Linked DNA regions of Homo sapiens: region 2 is linked to region 1. Evidence: promoter capture Hi-C in 16 types of primary human blood cells and fetal thymus (Javierre and others, 2016). All regions are on one chromosome and are shown on one strand. Each heading gives the region's core, a stretch centred on a gene start or on the middle of the fragment in contact. The rest is flanking DNA. Distances are from core to core; before and after follow the strand shown.

The links. Contacts are between HindIII fragments. The CHiCAGO score rates a contact against its expected background, and 5 or more counts as called.
Region 2: a fragment that was not itself captured here is called in contact with the fragment with the promoter of ARIH1 in region 1 in 1 of 17 cell types (fetal thymus); the score reaches 7.3 in fetal thymus.

Annotation. Positions count from the first base shown.
Region 1 is chr15:72,472,805-72,476,165 of GRCh38, reverse strand. It overlaps ARIH1 (ariadne RBR E3 ubiquitin protein ligase 1), which reads right to left and starts at 1,836. Exons shown (of 14, transcript NM_005744.5): 1 at 1,152-1,836. The coding sequence starts at 1,526. TMEM202-AS1 (TMEM202 antisense RNA 1) reads left to right here and starts at 1,927. Exons shown (of 4, transcript NR_135678.1): 1 at 1,927-2,291. RefSeq lists enhancers at 713-922, 2,373-2,472 and silencers at 1,473-1,702, 1,745-1,941, 1,793-2,132. The HindIII fragment of the contact is 10,721 bases long and covers 161-3,361 here.
Region 2 is chr15:72,766,492-72,769,852 of GRCh38, reverse strand. All of the region lies in intron 3 of ADPGK (ADP dependent glucokinase), which reads left to right. Among named protein-coding and RNA genes, the nearest start is that of ADPGK-AS1, 15 kb to the left of the region's middle. The HindIII fragment of the contact is 1,678 bases long and covers 673-2,350 here.

The DNA of each region.
Region 1 (3,361 bases), core at 587-3,086:
AACGAGTTGACAGTGACATACTTCTAATTTGTCAATGAATATTTAGCCAACCAATTTAAGTTAAACAAAAAAGAAATAATACTGATAAAAGAGGCAATAGTAACTTGCTGCTCATATATGTTTCCTTCCAGGTTTTCTAAAAATTGCACTGAATCAAGCTTCATTTTTATTCTTCAGCCATATCCCTGACTCCTCAGGAGAACTGAGGTTTTTTTTTTCCCCAAATGAAAACTTTTGAGTTTCTAAAGCTCAAAAATGCAAAATCTGACGCACATGGTTAAATGAGATGTGGTTATCAACTTACACCAAGCCTAACTTACCACAAAATAGAAAATATCAGAGAAAGGAGTTCACAAGCAGAAAACCTCTGCTTTCTAACTCACAATAGAGTCTTGTCCAATATTAGACAACACTGCGTTTTGTTGTTGTTTTAGCTACAAGGAAGGGTATGCAATATGCAGTAACTATTCCAACAGCTTCAAGCAAGTCATCTGCTACGACTAGAAAAAGTAGCAATTAGGTCCCAAACAGCAAAGACATAAAAAAGATGTAAGCAGAAGCCTCACCATCTGAAAAGAAGGCCCATCAGCACCTCTTCCGAGAAATACTTCCCTTCCCCCACCTTTAAGTAGGCACTTGAGACTGCCAAGATCCATTTCTTTATTAACTGGTGCCCACTTGGGGCAACTGTACACCAAGCTGCTCTTAGGCCTACTCTAATCCCTTCCAAAAGTGCTCAAATGAGGCTACGGCCGGGGTAAGTCCCGTCAGGGCCCAATTCTTCCTGACTCCTCTTCTCCACCCCACCTCCTCCGCCCCGCCCCAGTAGGCGATCGCCCGGCCAGAGAAAGGACACCCGGCCCAGGGACTGGCAGAAATTGCCCGCAAGAGAAGGCTTAGGCGACCGAAGGCCTCCGCCATAGCAGGACTTGGGAAGCACCGCCCCCAGCGCACCTCCCCACACCCGGCTAATCGGCGAACCTCTGCTTTCGACACCCTCTATCCCCAGCAGAGGCAGCGGAGAAGACAAGGCCGGGAGGCACCGGGCTAGGCTGCGCACCAGGCCCAGGCCTGTCCCTCGGGACCGCGCGTGCCGCCTGAATCCGCTCCCCCGTCGGGCCCGGTCCAGCTGGCGCGGCGGCCACCCTCACCTGGATGACCTCGTTGACCTCCCGGATACATTCCACCATGTGTTGTAGAATCTGCTCGGCCGTGAGCACCTCGTAGCGGTAATCCTCCTCCTGCTCATGCCCCGGCCCGCCACCACCACCGCCGCCGCCGCCGCCGCCGCCACCGCCGGGCCCCAGAGCGCTGCCGCCGCCACCGCCCGTCTCCCCGCACAGCAGTCCGTCCCGCTCCCCGCCGACGCCCAGCCCGGGCTCCACCAGCTCCACCTCGCCCAGATCCAGGGTATCATCGTCCGGCTCGTCGTCGTCTTCGTCCTCCTCCTCCTCGGCGCCGCTGTCCTCCTCACTGCACTCCTCGTCCTCGTCGAACTCGTAGTTGTAGCCCTCGTCCGAGTCCATGGCGCGACGCGCGGGGGCCCGGCGGACGCTGGCCGAGGCGGGGAGAGGGCGGGGACGCCGAGGCCCCGGCTCTCGCTCCGGCTCCGGCTGATGTCCGGACGCAGGCCTGGCTCCGGCCCCGCGAGCCGCGGCTCCTCCCCAGGAGCGGCGGTTGGCGTTTGACGGCTGGTGGCGGCGGGGAGGGCGCGGAGGAGGGAGGGAGGGAGCGAGGGGGCCGCTTGCTGCCCGCCTCAGTCAGACGCGGCTCCGCTCCGGCCTCCGAGAGAAAACAGTCCCCAACGCCACCTCCACGGCCGCTGCTATCGCTACTGAGCCAACAAAGGGGCGTGCGTCACCGCGTCGCGCTGCGTCGTCGCGTCACTCCTCTTTGCGTCACTGCGCCCCGCCCCACCGCCCCTGCGTGGAGCCCGGGGAGACCCCACGGCCCGGCCTTCCTGGGCCTGGGACCCGAGGGGAGCCGAGCGGGAATTGCTTTCCTGGTTCGATCCGCTGCCGCTGTGAGGGCCGAGCGGAAACCCGTAGACCTTTTATGTGAAGAGATTGCGGCCTCCTGGTCACCAGTCACCGAGAGAGGGACCCCTGGACCGCCTACGTGGTGGTGTCTGCCGCAGGCCATAGGGATCCAGCCCACTTAGGCAGTCCCTTGGGGACGCGGCCTTCCCTCCGGAGCGGAAAGGCGCTTCCCGCCCGCCCTGCGGTAATCCCGGAAGCCCTCAGCCGTTAAGCTAAAATTTCTGTTGCTTTGGCTACTGATGGAAACCTGTTGTAAGTGGAACCTCTAAACTGTATGACAGGTGAACCCACTTTAGGTAGCTGTGTGATTCTGTCCACTTGTACAGACGTGCAGTGGTTTTTAAGTCTCCTATAATGACGTCATTTTAAAGAGGCATTTCCTCCACCCCGCTGACAAGAGCGCCTCTTGAGGGCCCTAAACAATGTAAACAGCGATGATTTTCATGAATTGAGCACTGTGTAAGGGCTTTACATATATTCTGTCTCATCTTCACGGAGCCATAGTACCCATTTTATACCTGAGGAACCTGAAGCTCAGAAAGGAAAAGGGACCTGGCCAAGACCACATAACCCTTGCCCTATTTTAACCGCTGGATGCCCCAAAACATGAATCATAAAAATGCTTTGTAATGTAGATATATTATGTACTATGTAGTACATAAAAGACATGAATGCTTCAACAAAATACAGGCAATAATAGAAATATCTACAAGGGCCAAATGTAGCCAGAGAGATAATGCTTGAATCTCATCTGAAAGTGTGCTATGTGAGCTGAGTGTTGATGAATGGCTAGGAGTTCAACAGAGAAGGTAGGGAAGATGGTCTAGCCGCAGAGAACAAGCAAAAGCGCAGAAGGTGTCAAGTAAGTAATAGTTTGGGGAGCTTAAAGTGCATGGAGGGTACATGGCAAAATATTAGGCAAGTTAGTCAGGGGTCATGTCAGTTAAGAGCATTTTATGCCTAAGAGTGGGCTTAAATCTTTGCAAACAGGACATGCGAGCCAGAGAAGTGTTATGAAGGAAGAAGAGGCATAAGAAGGCTCCCTCTTGAGATAATCTGAAGAATTGGCCAGATTGAAAACCTTTTAAAATCAAAACCCCTGATTTGTTGATAAATCTTACTGTTCAACCTATAGGTTCCCTTTGGAAATTGATTTTGAAAAGTGAAAAATTCCATTATAATGTTAAAAAGCCTCTTCCAATTTGTCCATTTTGTAAGTTTTAAAATACCGATAATTATATTTCTTAACCTCAGGATTTACAAAGTAAAGCATTTAACCTCAATACTGGTAGTCTAGGTTTTTGTTGTTGTTGTTGTTGTTT
Region 2 (3,361 bases), core at 262-2,761, 290 kb before region 1:
AAAAATGAGGCATGGAGAAGTTAAAACTGGTGAAAATCACATACCTGATAATGAGTAGAGTGGGAATTGAACCCAAGTAGTCAAGCTTCAGAATCCATTCTCCTAATAGCCATGCTATATTGCATCTTTGAAATAGACGCTGGTGAATATAGTAAAGGCAGGTTTAGTGGAATGATAGAATAGAAGCCAAATTTCAGGAGAGGAACCGTGCCTTTAAAAAATATACTTGTGTAATCCCAGCACTTTGGGAGGCCGAGGCAGGCGGATTACCTGAGGTCAGGAGTTCAAGACCAGCCTGGCCAACATGGTGAAACCCTGTCTTAGCTAAAAATACAAAGAATTAGCTGGGCATGGTGGCAGGCGCTTGTAGTCCCAACTACTCAGGAGGCTGAGGCAGGAGAATCGCTCGAACCCGGGAGGCGGAGGTTGCAGTGAGCCGAGATTGCGCCACTGCACTCCAGCCTGGGCGACAGAGCAAGACTCCATCTCAAAAAAATATATACTTGTGGAATTAGGCAAGAATTAGGAATAGTTATTTTATTTTGTCAAATGCTTTTGTCAAATTCTGCATTTACTGAGGTTATTGTGTGGTTTTTTGTTTTTTAGTTTGATATATGGTAATTATATTGACTTTCACATATTAAACCAACCTTGCATCTCTAGGATAAAGCTTACTTTGTTCTGATGTATTCATTATCCTTTTCACATATTCAGTTTACTAAAATTGTGTTTAAAATTTTTACATCAATGCCCAAGAATAATATTGGTCTGTATTTTTCTTTTCTTGTAATGTCTGTGGTTTTGCTGTCAGGGCAATACTGGCCTTGTAGAATAAGTTGGAAAGTGTTTCCCCCTCTTCAATTTTTTTTTTTTTTTTGAGAGACAGGATCTGGCCTTGTCATCCAGGCTGGAGTGCAGTGGCATGATCTCGGCTCACTGCAACCTCTGCCTCCTGGGCTCAAGCCATCCTCCCACCTCAGCCGAGTTCCTGAGTATTTAGGATTGCAGACACGTCACCACAGCCAGCTAATTATTTTGTATTTTTTGTAGACTTGAGGTTTCACCATGTTGCCAGGCTAGTCTCAACTCCCGACCTCAAGCGATCCGCCTGCCTTAGCCTCCCAAAGTGCTGGGATTACAGGTGTGAGCCACCACACCTATCTTCTCTTCAATTTTTTTTTTTTCTTAAGATGGAGTCTCGCTCTGCCCAGACTGGAGTGCAGTGGTGGCGATCTCAGCTCACTGCAATGTCCGTCTCTCAGGTTCAAGTGATTCTCATGCCTCAGCCTCCCGAGTAGCTGGGACTACAGGTGTGTGCCACCATGCCCAGCTAATTTTTGTATTTTTTAGTAGAGAGGGAGTTTCACTGTGTTGGCCAGGCTGGTCTCCAACTTCTGATTGCAAGTAATCCACCTGCCTCAGCCTTCCATAGTGCTTGGATTCATCCAATACACCTGGCCCTTTCTTCAATTTTTAAAACAGAGTGAGTGTCGCATTGGTATTGTATCTTCCTTAAATGTTTATAGAATTTAAGCCTTCTAGTGAAGCCTTCTAGGCCCAGGGTTTTCTCTGTAGGAAGATTTTAAATAACTGATTTCTTTAATAGATATAGGGAAATCCAGATTTTCCTTTTTTTTTTTTAAATGAGCTTTAGTAGTTTGTATCTTTCAAGGAATTTGTTTCATCTAAGTTGTTGGATTTATTGGCATAAAGTTAATTATGGTATTCTATTATTCCTTTAAGATCTCTACAATTTGTAATGATGTTTTCCTTCTCATTCCTGATATTGGTCATTTGTATCTTCTTTTTTTTCCTGATCAGCTTGGCTAGAGGTTTATAAATTTTATTGCTCTTTTTAATAAGTAATTAGCTTTTGGTGAATTTATTTTTCTCTGTTTTTCTATTTTCATTGGATTTTGCTTGCTTCAGATTTGACTTGCTCTTTTTCTAGTTTCTTAAGGTGAGAAGCTACAATCATTGATTTGAGACCTTTCCTGTTTTCTCATATAGGGGTTTAGTGCTATAAATTTCCCCTTAAGTACTGCTTTAGCTGCATCCCAAAGATTTTGATGGATTATTTTTATTTTCATTCATTTCAAAATACTAATATCCCTTTGATTTATTGAGATGTGCCATTTAATAGCCCATTCATGGACTACTTAGAGGTATGTTATTTAGTTCCTAAATATTTGGGGATTTTCCAGATGTCTTTCTGTTACTGATTTCTATTTCAATTCCAGTATGGTCAGAAAATATGCTTTCTATGACCTGAATCCTACTAAGTTTTTGAGACCTTTTTCATGGTGCAGAATATTCTATCTTGGTGAGGTTCTGTGTGTACTTGAAAGCTTCAAGAATATACATAAGCCTTTCTGTTGTTGGGTCGAGTGTTCTGTAAATGTCAATTAGATGAAGTTGATTGATAGTGTTGTTCAAGTCTTCTATATTCTTATTGGTTTTTTTTTTTTTGTCTATTTGATCTGTCAGTTATTAAGAGGTATGTTGACGTCTCCAACTGTAATTTTGGATACTTGTCTATTTCCTTTATAGTTCTGTAACTTTTTGCTTTATGTATTTTGAAACTCTTATTAGGTACATAAATGTTTAGGATTGTTACATCCCTTTAATGAATTAATTCCTTTATCATTACTAGGGATAAATAAAATCATTTCATAATATTCTTTGCTCTGAAATCTATTTTGATTGAAATAGCCATTCCAGCTTTCATTTGATTAGTATTGGCATGGTATATCTTTTTCTGTCCTTGTGCTTTTAATCTATTTGCATCTTTTTACCTTAAAGTGTATTTTTTATAGACAGCGTATAGTTGGGGCTTGCTTTTTAATCCACTTTGACAATCTCTGCCTTTTAATCGGAGTGTTTAGACCATTTACATCTAATGTGATTATTGATATATCAGGTTAGGTTTAAATCTAACATCTTGCTATTTGTTTGCTGTTTGCCCCATCTCTATCTTTGTCCCTCTTTTTCTGTACTCTTTTGGATTATTTTCTATGATTTCATTTTATCTTCTCTGACTTTATTAGGTATAATTCTTTTTTTCTTAGTGGTTGCATTAGGGTTTATACTGTACATCTTTAGCTTATCACGGTCTACTTTCAAGTGATAACAGGCATACCTCAGAGATACTGCATGTTTGGTTCTAGACGACTGCAATAAAACAAATACTGCAATAAAATAAAACGCATGAATTTTGTTTCCCAGTGCATTAAAAGGTATGTTTACACCGTACTATCGTCAAGTAAGTGTGCAGTACCATTATGTCTGAAAAAAAGTGTACACAATTTTAGAGTGCTTGGTTGCCAAAAAATGTTAACAATCATCTGAGCTTTCAGACGGT